2 separate regions of the Homo sapiens genome follow, and region 2 is linked to region 1. Evidence: promoter capture Hi-C in human tissues and cell types (Jung and others, 2019). All regions are on one chromosome and are shown on one strand. The core of a region is centred on a gene start or on the middle of the fragment in contact, and the rest is flanking DNA. Distances in the headings are between cores, read along the strand shown. Region 1 holds the start of RBM24 (RNA binding motif protein 24). Region 2 has its middle 45 kb from the start of CAP2.

Region 1 (6,677 bases), core at 1,083-3,582:
AGAATTTCCTTGTAGATCTCACCACTTTACCTAGTGAACATCCTAGCTGCTGGCTACACTCCCAGACACCCTCCTTCCCTGATATTATCACAGTCCTCTCCAGGGTGGGCTCCCAATCCAGGTAGGAAGAAAGGCGAGACAGCCAAAGGCGCCCTTCTAAGGCTTCTCTCTAAGCAGCTTCCCTTCACAAAAGGGTTTTGCCTGAGCCTCATCTACGTACAGTAATTCTTAAATGACACAAGATGGATGTTGAATATTAAAAAACACGCCTCTTCTCTTTCCCCGCCTGCTTTGTTTTTCTAACTTTTAAAAATTATCTTTCATCATACCAGCACAGAGAGTCGTTTTTGAACCTGTCCTTTAACTTAAGTAATGAAGAGAGGGTGTTTACAATTTCACTTTCTGGCTCTCATCTGTCTGTAAAATTCTTTATTATTTTTTTAATCGGGTGAAAAAAATGTTTTTAACTTTAATAGATTTCTGATTTCTCTATATCTCCCACTGGGGGTTCAAACTTAAAGAAACCAGTGACGTCAAAAAGTCAACCTCATGAGGAAGTCAGCAAGATGAAAAACGGAATTTAATGTTTTGCACAAGAATATTTGCATTCCCATTAGCCTTTGCAAATGCAACATTTCTCACCCTCTTGGGTTGACTGCAAAGGTGTCCTGGAGAGAAACAGAGTATGCACCTCTCTAACGGTTAACATACTGAATTGTTTTAATGGAATAAATGGTGCGGCTCAGGGGCGATTAATGTAGGGACTGTAGACTCCCGTAGAAAGGACTTAAAAGGCAATTGTGCACCAACAATGGTGGATGAAACCTTCTGCTCACATCAAATATTTTCATCCAAACCTCAAGTATGACTGATTGATTTTAAGGCCTAATTGAATGAATTCTCAATTAAAAGAAGTTGCAAAAAGCTGATGTAAAGTAATAAATATATATGGGGTGCCCTATGTTCTACAAATGCTTTCAGGTCTGCTGGTAGAAACCACTGGTTATGCAATAAGTTGATTTCAAAAATTATACCTTTTACATTTACATCCAGATAAAAACAGATGAGGTCAAGCCACTAAACATTCTTGTAATTCAAAGAGAAAGAAATAGATTAATTCTTTGTTTAGGGAAAAAAAAAAAAAAAGAACGACTTATGCTAAGACATCTGTACCAATCTTCCTGAATAACTAAGTTAGGGAGGAAAGACAAATTTGGTGACTGTGGGGGCTAAAATACTAACTTATGGTCCTCTGAAATAGAAGGCGGTGCCTGATGGACATAGGTATCTCCGGTTACTTGGTTTGGCTGGGCGGTAGCAATTAAAGCTAATGGTTTTCCCAACTACACCCAAGCGCTAGATCTTTCTTTTCCTTCTGGCTCTACCTCTCTGATACTTCCCCGCACTGGCTTTTTGGGGCCAAAGAAAGTTGGGGCCCTCCTTCTCACTCTTCAGACCCCAGGGTGTCCAGCTTGGGTTTCGTTCGGCCGAGCTCCTTGACCCCCCGCGCCCGGGAGGGGATTGGCCTCTCAGCGAATCGCCCCAGGCCTCTGGGGACCCCAGTTCGCCAGTCCAGGTCGCCGGCCCTGTCACCGAGGCCTAACCCAAAAAGCTCGCGTCGTCCCCTCTGGAAAGCAACGCAGCTTCCTCCTTGGGCACAGTCCCCGCACCCTGGGTCCCGGCTGGTGCTGCGCCGGGTCCCTAAGACTTTGACTGGTTAGAGCAGGCGACGCCGAGAGCCAGGCCGCCTACAGGCGTCTCCAGCCCTACCCCATCGCCGGCTACAGAGCGGGAGCCCCGAGCCCCAGCGCCGCGCCGCGCGGGGAGAGAAGCAGCTGTTCCCAACAGCTGGGGGGCGGCGGCGCCCGGCGCCCCAGGTGCTGCCGCGGCCAATCGCAGGCGTCCGGCCCGCCCCCCTCCCCAGCCGGGCGTCGACCCCCGGCCCGCGGGGGAAGGGAGCAGAGAGGTGGAGAGCTGTCCTCGGCACTCGTCTTCCAGATCCCACGGCGGGAGGGACAGACCAGAGCCGAAGCTGCGCGGAGTTCCTCGCCCCTGGCCCCGCCGCCGCGCCCCCCGCCCGCTTCGGCGCTCGGACGCTCTTCCCGCGGACCCTCCCCACACCCCACCCAAGGCACCTGATTCCTAAGGAAGAAAAATCTACCTCTAAAGCACCCGCTTCTTCGCTTGAGAACTACCCTCTCTTTTCATTTTTGGCCTCCCCGCCGGGTGAGTGGAAACCGCTTGCACATTCTATAGAACCCGATTCTAATCCAGACGATCCGGAGAATTTGTACGGTGACCGGCAGGGGGGGCGGGAGGAGAGAGCGAAGTCAAGTCTCCAGGGCCGCTGGCGACTTCGGAAGCCGCGCGCCCGGCGCTCTCGGCCGCCCCCGGCCGCTCGCCCCCGCCGCGCCGCCGCCCTCGCCCCCGGGCTCGCCCTTGGCCCCCGGCGGCCGCGAAAGGGTGCGGGAGACGCGGAGCCGGAGGAGGAGGCGCAGCCGCTGCCCGAGCCGCAGCCGCAGCCGGAGCCCGAGCCGCGGGGCGGGTGCGAAGATGCACACGACCCAGAAGGACACGACGTACACCAAGATCTTCGTCGGGGGGCTGCCCTACCACACCACCGACGCCAGCCTGCGCAAGTACTTCGAGGTCTTCGGCGAGATCGAGGAGGCGGTGGTCATCACCGACCGGCAGACGGGCAAGTCCCGGGGCTATGGATTTGTAAGTTGCACGGACTGGGGGTGACGGGGAGGGACGGAGTGGCGGCTGACCCCGGGGATCGGGAGCTTGGAGTGAGGGGCTCGGCGTGACCCGTGAGGAGCCCCGCGGGTAGAGCGGCGCTGCCCCTTCGCTCCGGGGTGAACTGAAACTTTGCTAGGGGAGAGGGTCGGCGCCAGCCTCGCGGGGTTCGGAGAAGACCCAGCGCTGTGCGAGGTCGGGGGCCGGGCAGGGCAGAGCAGGGGTGAAAGGAGAGACCTGTAATGACGGCGGGATTTGGGGTGCGGAGGGTTGCGAGGGAGGGGCCGCAACCCTGAACAATTGCATTCCCGGGCTGGATGCCGGTTGTTAAGCGCGCTGTTGCTTTGTAAAAATGCGTGTGTTCTGGTGTTTTGGCTGGGGCAGGGAGGGGACACCCCACGAGGTCTGGGGCTGTTGCCCTTGTGTCATCCCCCCGCCTTTTAACTGCAAAGGTAGGTTCTTTTAAATCATGATCCTAGGGCTCTTTGCCGAACTGAAACAGAGCATATTAAGCTTCCTTCCTAGAGATTTAAGCGTGCAAATTCAGCTGCCGAAGAGCAGGGAGCCCCAGAGTAGGACAATAGCTATTGTCGTTGGGGAGTGTTTTCGAGGTTGGGAGCGTTGGGCGGATGTAAGGCTGGACTTTCTTTAAAGCAAACGGTGCCTCTGAGGCTGAGTAGGGACCTGGGGGGCGGGGGATTCGGGGGAAGGAGGATCTAGAGTTCCAAGAATTTAGGCTTCCAAATCTCGGCTAGGCCCTACTAACACCCTTAAGATTTCGGCGGTGGGGTGGGGGGAGGCAGGGTTAGAGGGTTTCTTTCTTTTTTCCTTCGTCTACCCGCCCCCCCCCCCCACGCCCCCGCCCGCCTGTTAAAAATGGGAGATCAAGGAGGAGGGTCCAGCCAAAAGAAGCAAAGAATAGAAAAAAAGTTTGATCTCAGTTTTATCATGAATGACTTCTCCATTGTGATTCTTGATTTCCTTCATGGGTTAATTTAGAGGTTATGTATGTATGTCTGTGTGTGTCTGTTGCTAAGGTCACCATGGCTGACCGGGCTGCTGCCGAAAGGGCCTGCAAGGATCCCAATCCCATCATTGATGGCAGAAAGGCCAACGTGAACCTGGCATACTTAGGAGCAAAACCAAGGATCATGCAACCAGGTGAGAAATGTCTGTCTCCCCTACCCCCCTCTCCAAGAACCCCCCATTTATGGGTGGGATGATTCTCTAATTTAGAAGACATTGTCTCTTTCTGTAGATGTGTTTAGTAAACTTGAACCATGGCTTGTTATTCTACCAAGGCATTAAACATAAATGAGAGTTGTAAATACTCCTCTCAAGGCTTGAAATGTACCTGTGTGCAAAAATGGATCTTGGGGGTCGTGCAGGAAGAAGAGTTAGTCATGTCTCACCTGTTTCCTATATGGCATACATTTGTAGTCTGCTCTCAATTTTCCAATTTTTAGCCACCTGTAGATAATTCACATGTGGATTATATAGGCCAAATTTGTCGACTTCAGCTAATATACTTCCCTACTTAGTGGTGTCTCTCCTTTTAGCACCAGTTGCACTGTGCTCAGAGCAGGCAGTCTGACTTGAACACAGACCCAAGGGAAGCATTAAGGGGTAGGGGCGATGTCCAAATGGTAAAGGTTTTGTTTTTTTTTGAGATGGAGTTTCGTTCTTGTTGCCCAGGCTGGAGTGCAATGACGCGATCTAGGCTCACTGCAACCTCCGCCTCCTGGGTTCAAGTGATTGTCCTGCCTCAGCCTCCCAAGTAGCTGGGATTACAGGAATGTGTCACCACACCCAGCTAATTTTGTATTTTTAGTAGAGACGGGGTTTCACTGTGTTGGTCAGGCTGGTCTTGAACTCCTGACCTCAGGTGATCCACCCGCCTTGGCCTCCTAAAGTGCTGGGATTACAGGCGTGAGCCACCGCGCCTGGCCCAAAATGGTAAACCTTCAACATAAAATCACAGAGTATTAGCAATCAAAGAAAACAGAAATTGCACCTACTCAAGAACCCTATGCTACAGACAAAGAAACTGATGCTTAGAGATGAGAAATATTTTACTTAAGTCATGTAGCTATTAGTTGCCAAAAGGGAGCAGTTTTTTGTCTATGGGAAAACAATACCTCTTGGATTATTTACAACACTGCCCTTTGCATTAGCACAAATAGTTGAGAGTTGATTTTTAAGCAAATATAATATTTTCTTTGGTCAGGCAACTTTACTTGTAAAGTTTGATTAAATCATATACTCTTCACTCCTAAGCCTTTCCATCTGAAATTTTGGGAAGAGGTTGACACTTCCATCCAAACGGGTTTAAAAGGAAACTAGGTTGTCAAGAAAATGAGTGTTTGTGCAAATATTCATGGGCGTTAAAAAAATTTGTCTAATACATTGTGGGTATGTAGTATCCAGAAAAAAAACATTTTTTTTTGTGAATTTTTAATACTGGAAAGTGTAAAACCCATAATCTTCCAAAGCATTGTCTGAAGCATCCCAGAACGTTCCAAATTACAAAGACTTTTCATAGATTCTGGTTCAAAACTGTGAGAATATTTGAGATGTAACTTCACTGTCAAATCCTGCTGTACTTAATTTTATTTCATGAACATTTTCCCAAGGTCTGATTCTGTGTCTGTCAACTAAAATTTGCAGATTTTTTTAAAGTTTTCACCTTTTCTCTGTTAAAACCTTTATTTTGAATCAATGATAGCATTTATAAAACTGACTTTAAAAAATATACATACATATAGTTTCTTTAAAGTGGCGAAAGAATGTTTATCTTTTATAAGTGAAAGTTGTGATTGCATTTTACATGTAGGAATAATAAATGCCTAACCATGCACAAATAAAGAATGTGGTATATTTTGTTGTTAGGTTTTGCCTTTGGTGTTCAACAACTTCATCCAGCCCTTATACAAAGACCTTTCGGGTAAGTTGATTAATCAGGCTTTCTTAAGTTTCAGTATGACTATCATTTGTTAACGTGCCTCTTTGTTATATACAGATAAGATCATGATGTCACAGAATGGTCCTAGTTATACAATTTTATATATATTTGTGCATTTTTAATGCTGATACTATAAATATTTTTAGATGAGTCAAGTTATCTGACCAAGTATGCAGCCTCCAAACGAGACAAATTTTGAGCTTATGATTAGCAAAACAAAACAAAAATACCAGGTATGACTTGTGTACAAGACGATTGTGTCCCATCACCATTACTACTGTTCGACTTGACTCAATTTTATTTATCTCTTTCTAACCTGACAGGGCTCGTATACAGTTAAGCTAACTGATCAGAAGGATACCATGATAAGAGGTGGAATAGTTCTGTTTGGAATTAAACTCTGTAACCAGTAGACTCAGACACACAAGCTCAGATGGTGATTAACGATGCATGGATGTTGGTGTTGTTGTTTTTATTTTTCACAATAGTCAATAGCCCTTCGTGTGCTTTATTTTATTTATTACAGTAATGAAGTGGTGTTGATAGCTAAACTGTGTGCTTTTTACTTAATTGAAAAGAGCTGTAGTGAAAGTGTTTTCTTTTCCTCGGGGAAGGGGCTCTTTGCGTTTTGATTTTGGTGGTGGTGTTGAGGGGTGTTGACTTTTGACTTTGCCATGGGAAGCAAAGGGCCTTTTTTTTTTTCTTGCTTTTAAGCTGTAGCCTGTGACTTCCATTTAACCACATTTTTGTAGTGAGTGCTAAATTGTGTGATTTCTCTTTGTCAGAATACAGATTCATTGCTTGCATGTCCTAAGTTTCTGTTTTATGGGAAATTTTCTGGGAATGGGGTTCTTTCTTTTGCAATGTGTATCCACTTTTAGGCCATCTAATTTAAAGGTTCAACAACTCTCATCAGATTTTATTAACACAAGCCAGTTTTTTTGAGTAGCGTCACACTAACTTTCACCTTTCAGAT
Region 2 (7,727 bases), core at 2,612-5,111, 68 kb after region 1:
TATCACTTACTTTTCACATTTTATGGATTTCTTGAAATTGCCCTGGGATTATGGGAATTTGGTGACTCAGGTCATGAACTCCATTATTTTGGCTTTAGCCTTCAAGGTAAAGATCTGATACTAAGCTGGTCTTTACATCTATTTTTAACATCTTGGATTTGGAGGTAAAGGCGATTGTATGGAACCCCAAAACACATTCAAGGTTGTGAAATAATGAAAATGTAAGTGGAGGCATGAAGATTCAATGTGTTCTTTATCATCCTTCGCAGCTTAAGTAAATGACTGACTATTCTCAGAGTCAAAAATAATTCAGGATTTAATTGGCAAAGGTATTTTAAGGTTCTGTCTTTTTCTATTTTTCTCCTGCCTTGGTAAAGCTATGAGTTATGTTGTAAGCACTGAGCATCTTGAAATAGTAGTTACTAAGACAACGTATTAAATTAAGAATTAATTGGATTTTTAAAAATTCTCCTGTGTGTACATACAAACATATTGGTATTATGGTTCTCATTTTACCTTGGCATAATATCCTCCTAAAGAGAAGCCCATATATCTTTGGATTCTGAAAATTATCATTTTCACACCTCCATAAGCAAATAGAATCCTTTTAACATATAAAGGATCTCCTTCCTAGGGAAAAGTTGCTTATTATATACTCGTTAGTAGGTCTCCAGGCTGGCTTCCACCAAATTTTAATAAATCATTGCATTTTCTATAAGTTGATTCCCCAGTTCCCATGATTATTTGCCAATAATGTCCAGGCATGTTTTCCGTATGCTTTCCTTAATTCATTATGAGCACATGAGATTCCTCTAAAGTGGTAAATTACGCATCTCAAATCTGAGCTCTGTAAGGGCTGGCAAGTGCTACTGATGATATGAACTACATAGTCCAGTATATTGTTGCAGTTGTCTATGGAAACAAATGTAAGCTTTCCTGTCAATGCAGAAGGTTAGGGCCAGAAGGCATCTTAAAGAGCACACAACACATCCTATTTATGTTACAAAGAATCAAAAGCATAGATTTTTGTGGGGTTTTTGTTTTGTTTTTTGTTTGTTTGGGGGACAAGGTCTCACTCCATCACCCAGGCTGGAGTGTATGATCTCAGCTCATTGCAGTCTCAACCTCCCCAGCTCAAGCAATCCTCCTACCTCAGCCTCTGGAGTAGCTGGGACCACAGGCACAGGCTACTACACCTGACTGATTTTTGTACTTTTTGTAGACATGGAGTTTCACCTTGTTGCCCAGGCTGGTCTTGAACTCCTGGGCTCAAGCAATCTGCCCACCTTGGCCTCCCAAAGTGCTGGGATTACAGGCATAAGCCACCGTGCGCCCAGCCTGCATATCTTTCAGTAGAGATAGTATGGAAATATGCTTTTCCCCATAGGCTTCATTCCCTACCTCTGCTGGATGTGAGGCACTATGCTAGATCTTAGGGATACAAAAAGGACTCCGATACGACCTTTCCCTAAAGAGCTCATGATCTTAGGAACCTGCAAGAGGAATGAGAAAGGTGAAGGGCCCTGATTTAGGTAGATGTCAACTCTGCCCATCTAAGGGAGAGAAAGGTAGGGAGGGTGGTGATTTAAATTAAATGAAGCCTCTCCTCTTGTTCATTCTGTCTTCTCTAAACAATCTTTAGCAGAAGGCAAAGTGATAGCTTTATGTTCAGAAGACTGAGAAAACAAATTTTGACTCAGCTATTTACCCATTTGCATCTCAATTTCTTTATCTGTAAAAAGGATGATAGTAATACCCATCCTCTAGAATTATGACAAGGTACATAGTAAAATAGAGCCCCTAACATGTGCGTTTTAGGGGGAGGAGAATGTACTATTCTCCAGGTGGACTTCAGTGAATTTGATTTTCCTTATGTTTATCCAGCCTAGTTTTTCTCCCTCAAACAATTTGTCCTTCAAGGCTAAGATAAAACTTCCATCAACACCCTTCCTCTTGTGCCTCTCAGATCTGGTGGCTTCCAGGGCTGCTGGCAACACAAACCCCTTAGAAATCACAAGAGTGAAGCATAGGTTAGGGGAGTGGGGTTGGGGTGGCTCAGTAGGGTGTGTGGAGTAGGGAGATGGAAAGAAGGTTGTATCTGCAATCACTGCAGGCTCCTCAGCTGTGATTGGGATGTGGCTTCCAGCTCTTCTGTCTATAAAACAGACGACTAATACAGAGCCTTCAGACTCAGCACTCGGTTTTCACTCCATCCTCACTTCTCATCTCCCACTATGAGGGCACAAACCAGGGCTTCTTTAGCATGGTTTAAGCAAGTGCCATGCCCTCCACTTAGAATAATTGGACACTTCATAATTCTTTTTTATTATAAATAATGATGATTCTCTTCATTATAGAAAGAATACATGTTATTTTTAATCAAAAAAATTGAAATACACTTTTTATTATTTTGAAGCTTCACCATCTTCTAAATGCAAGCACGTAAGTGAATTGTTGAAAGAAGTTTTGATTTTTTTTTTTTTTTTGAGACGGAGTCTCGCTCTGTTGCCAGGCTGGAGTGCAGTGGTGCAATCTCGGCTCACTGCAACCCCCACCTCCCAGGTTCAAGCAATTCTCCTGCCTCAACCTCCTGGGTAGCTAGGACTACAGGTGCCTGCCACCACACCCAGCTAACTTTTTGTATTTTTAGTAGAGACGGGGTTTTACCATGTTGGCCAGGATGGCCTTGATCTCTTGACCTCGTGATCAGCCTGCTTTGGCCTCCCAAAGTGCTGGGATTACAGGCATGAGCCAACGCGCCCGGCCGAAATATATATTTTTTTAATTAGCTTAGTGCAGTGGTGCGTGCCTGTAGTCCCAGCTACTTGGGAGCCTGAGGCAGGAGGATTGCTTGAGCCCAGTCGTTCGAGGCTACAATGAACTATGTTCTTGCCACTGTACTCTAGACTGGACAACAAACTGAGACCCTGTCTCTGAAAATAAAACATAAAAATAAATAAAGAAAAAATTAACAAAAAAGCAAAAAGTTTCTAGTTTAATGATTTGCTAAAATTAAATAGATAAATATCAATATTTCATCACCACTGTCTCATGAAAACTTTTTTTTTTTGGCTTAAGCTTTTAAGCATCACAATAATAATAGTTGTATTCGGAAGATTCATTTGCATCATGTCAGGTATGTTGGTTGGATATATATATTGTGTATATTTAGTGTGACATTATTTTTAATACCCACAAAGTTGGGAAACAGTGAATAAACATTATGTCAAGAACATTATTATTTTTTTTTTTTTGAGACGGAGTCTCCCTCTGTTGCCCAGGCTAGAGTGCAGTGGTGGGATCTCGACTCACTGCAACCTCCACCTCCCGGATTCAAGGGATTCTACTGCCTCAGCCTCCCGAGTAGCTGGGAATGTAGGTGCTTGCTACCACGCCTGGCTAATATTTTATATTTTTAGTAGAGACGGGGTTTCACTGTGTTAGCCAGGATGGTCTCAATCTCCTGACGTTGTGATCCACCCGCCTTGGCCTCCCATAGTGCTGGGATAACAGGCGTGAGCAACCATGCCGGGCAGGTCCAAGATTATTTTTAAAAGACATCTTGGGCCAGGTGCGGTGGCTCATGCCTATAATCACAGCACTTTGAGAGGCTGAGGTAGGCGGATGACGAGGTCAGGAGTTCAAGACCAGCCTGGTCAACATAGTGAAACCCCATCTCTACTAAAAATACAAAAATTAGCTGGGCATTGTGGCACATGCCTGTAGTCCCAGCTACTTGGGAGGCTGAGGCGGGAGAATGGTGTGAACCCGGGAGGCAGAGCTTACAGTGAGTGGAGATCGTGCCACTGCACTCCAGCCTGGGTGACAGAGCGAGACTCTGTCTCAAAAAAAAAAGACATCTTGGCCTGGCACGGGGGCTCATGCCTCTAATCTCAGCACTTTGGGAGGCCGAGGCAGGAGGATTGCTTGAAGCCAGGAGTTTGAGACCAGCCTAGGCAACACAGTGAGACTCAGTCTCTAAAAAAATTAAAAAATTAGCTGGGCATGCTGGCACACACCCATGGCCCCAGCGACTCAGGAGGCTGAGGAGGGAGGATCGCTTTAGCCTGGGAGGTCAAAGCTGCAGTAAGCTATGATCACACCAGTGCACTCCAGCGGGGGTGACAGAGTGAGACTCGTCTCAAAAAAAAAAAAAAAAAAAAGACATCTGAACTCACAAATCAACTCCATTGTGGAGGTGATCAAATTATAGAAGAAACATTTGCACACTTACCACTAGTTCTGTGGTCTTCTTTGTCTGTCTCTGGTGCTCCACCATATATCACTTTCTCAAGGATAAATGTGCACAGCTGAGACTTTGTCCTGCTCACACACTGAGATGTAGAATAGAGGAAATTATTCACGTGGGTCAGCTATTTGGGGCTTTTAAATGATCAGATTACTTATCTATAGAAAATTTTACCCTGAATTACCTAAATATCTGCCTTGGTGCTTTGATTCATTTTATAAGTGTACCCACAAGGGAAGATTGAGTCATAGTTAAAAGAATGTTTGTTTATCTGCTTATGTGGTACACTAAAACAGGGTGGCATCTTTATCCAAATCTGAGTTGCTTGGCAACTGAATCAGCTTTCCATTTCTAGTTAACCAGCTGTGAATGGAACCTTACAGAGTCCAAGAATCACACTAATACTCACGTATTCATGGGAGGCCTAGAACCAAGGTCAGTAACTGAGCTACAATCTCAATAGAATCTATATTTCCCGCATTTATTATTTAGAATTCATAGGCTCCCAGATTTGAAAGAGGTCTTACATGTATTGGAAAAGGCCTTACTTTTTTTTGAGATGGAGTATTGCTCTTTCGCCCAGGCTGGAGTGCGGTTGCGCGATCTTGGCTCACTGCAACCTCCGCCTCCCGAGTTCAAGTGATTTTCCTGCCTCAGCCTCCCAAGTAGCTGAGATTACAGGTGCCCACTACCACGCCTGGCTAATTCTTGTATTTTTAGTAAAGATGGGGTTTCACCATGTTGGCCAGGCTGGTCTCGAACTCCTGACCTCGTGATCTGCCCGCTTTGGCCTCCCAAAGTGCTGGGATTACAGGGGTGAGCCACCGTGCCCGGCCAGAAGAGGCCTTACATATTAATCTAAGTGCCATCCTGTAGTTAACTTCACTGTGGAGTTATGGGCCAACCTCGGCATGGACATCTGCCAATTTTAGTTCTAGCATACTCGAATTTTAACAGATGATGATGTTTCAAACTATTAACCATGTGCCTATTTCAACATTTTTTTGTTTTCTGATTTTTTAAAAGGACATCCATTATGTTTTCAGTGAAGAAAATCACTATTGCTTATTCCATCTTTGGACAGTTTTTACTCATAACAGTTATTCCTTATAATGGGACAAAATCTGTCTATTAATTCTCCCAGACAATCATAGTTTATCTCTTGGTGCCTTGTAGATCAAATGTAATACCCTTCCCATAAGACAGGTTAGCAATATGTTATCCTCATCTAAGTTTTTCATTCAGGCTAAATTTTCCCAATTTCTTCAATCAAACCTCATACATAGTGTCAAGTCCCTTCACTACTCTGATCAGTCATCTCTCAACTCAAATTCATTTTTGTGTGTTGTTTTTGAACCAGGACTCTGGAAGTAGAATGCAACCTTCCAGAAATGACAGAGTGAATTGGGACCATGTCCTAACTTGAAGAATACCATTCTCTTATGAATGCAACTCAAGATTGCATGACCTGCTTGATACAAACAATCTCTAAAGTTGATAGGTATTGGGTTTATTGAAGATGAAAACCTCTGTCACTTAAACATAGTCTCCTCCACCGTGTTCATACACTTTGGGATTTTTCTGGACCCAAAACAAGACCTTAAATTTATCCTGCTAAATTCCATTCTATTTAATTCTGTCCCTCGTATCAATATATCAAAATCTCTAGATTCTTTCCTACATATATCCTTTCTTTCAGCTTGGTGTCTTGCAAATATATGATGTGCCACACCTTTTATACATTTACCCAAGTAGATGACAAAAAAATTTAAGTAGATAACAAGGATAGTCTTATGCTAAGCCTTGAAACTTAATGCTAGTGATCCATTAATCTACCCCTTGATTATTGCCATTGAATCGGTTACTCATCCTTATGTCTAGCCCATAATCCTCTACTTCATGAGGAACAAACTATGAAGAACCTTATCAAATACCTTGCAGGAACCAGAAAAAGAGAAATAAAATATATTGGCTACCTCTTGCATTCAGTTATCTTTATATCACCTCATTTAATTAATTTGTGTTTTTTTAAACAAAGATCTAGTGAGTACTTATTATATGTCAGGTGCTATTCTAGGCTCTGGGTATATGCAGCAAAACTTCTTTTTTTTGGTATTATCATACATTCAAGTATCCTCATTTTGCAGAGTAAGAAAATGAGACTCAGAAATGTGAACTACCTCACAAAGTGAATATATACTGTAATAGCATCAGAGCCAGGATCCACACTTAACCATGTAAATTTCTTTTTCACTGATGGATTTCATCTCTGAGGTACACACCCACTGTAGCTACCTAATCCTCAACCACTTCAGTTTTTCAGCTTTTGCCTTCTATGCATAATACTTTTTTCTTTTTTCTTTTTTTTTGAGATGGAGTCTCACTCTGCCACCCAGGCTGGAGTGCAGTGGTGCGATCTCGGCTCGCTGCAAGCTCCACCTCCTGGGTTCAAGCAATTCTCCTGCCTCATCCTCCCAAGTAGCTGGGACTATAGGTGCATGCCACTGCGCCCAGCTAATTTTTGTATTTTTAGTGGAGACGGGGTTTCACCATGTTGGCCAGGCTGGGTCTCGAACTCCTGACCTCGTGATCTGTCTGCCTGGGCCTCCCAAAGTGCTGGGATTACAGGCGTGAGCCACCGCGCTCGGCCCAATTTTGTCTTTATTATAATCTTTGTCCACAAAGTTTATATCTTAACCCTAAGTAGTGAATAATGTTGGGAATTACATGCATTACAGTAAATTGATAGGAAAAATATTTGGGACAACCAGGCTACTAGTTTATAAGGAATCACTAGTCTTCCGTGTTTTCCTTGATGCAACTCATTTTCTGGTTCTATTGTTATCCCCTTACCGTGCATCCACCTCCCTCAAAATGAACAAAATCTCCCAAGGTGGGGACAGGTAAGGCAAAGCATATTCAATTTCATATCTATAAGTAATAAAATGTGCCTCAATTATAGTGAGTTATTGTCTATATCATAATCCAAAGTCATGCCTTGGAGAAGAGGATGAAGGTTAAGGATTTCCAGGGCTAGCTTTTAGTTCCCAAAGAAACATTAAAGTTGTGTTTAATGCAAAAGATACCAGCAAAGCAGTTCAGAATCTCATATATCTCTTTATTCTTTTATAAAAAATTGCTGAGACAGGATCTCACTCTGTTGTCCAGGCTGGAATGCAGTGGTGTCATCATGACTCACTGCAGCTTCAAACTCCTGGGCTCAAGTGATCTGCCCACCTCAGCCTCCCTGGGACTGCAGGCACATGCCACCAAGTCCAGCTAATTTTATTTATTTAAACTTTTTCCAGAGATGGTGGTCTCACTAGGTTGTTCAGGCTATTCTCATACTGTTGATCTCAAGCAATCCTCCTGCCTCAGCCTCCCAAAGTGCTGGGATTATAGGTGTGAGCCACCTTATGTAGCCTTATTTGTCTTTATTCTTTTAGGTGTCAAAATTCAGTTTATGTCCTTCATCTTT

Evidence for each region. The method cuts DNA at HindIII sites, captures the fragments that hold promoters and counts their contacts. A contact is called where the count stands out against the background at its distance.
Region 2: a contact is called between a fragment that was not itself captured here and the fragment with the promoter of RBM24 in region 1, in 3 of the 25 tissues and cell types used here (hippocampus, mesendoderm cells and thymus).

Annotation. Positions count from the first base shown.
Region 1 is chr6:17,279,029-17,285,705 of GRCh38, forward strand. It overlaps RBM24 (RNA binding motif protein 24), which reads left to right and starts at 2,333. Exons shown (of 4, transcript NM_001143942.2): 1 at 2,333-2,721; 2 at 3,777-3,900; 3 at 5,629-5,683. The coding sequence starts at 2,554. The HindIII fragment of the contact is 10,579 bases long and covers 1-6,476 here.
Region 2 is chr6:17,345,055-17,352,781 of GRCh38, forward strand. No RefSeq gene overlaps it. Among named protein-coding and RNA genes, the nearest start is that of CAP2, 45 kb to the right of the region's middle. The HindIII fragment of the contact is 4,376 bases long and covers 1,674-6,049 here.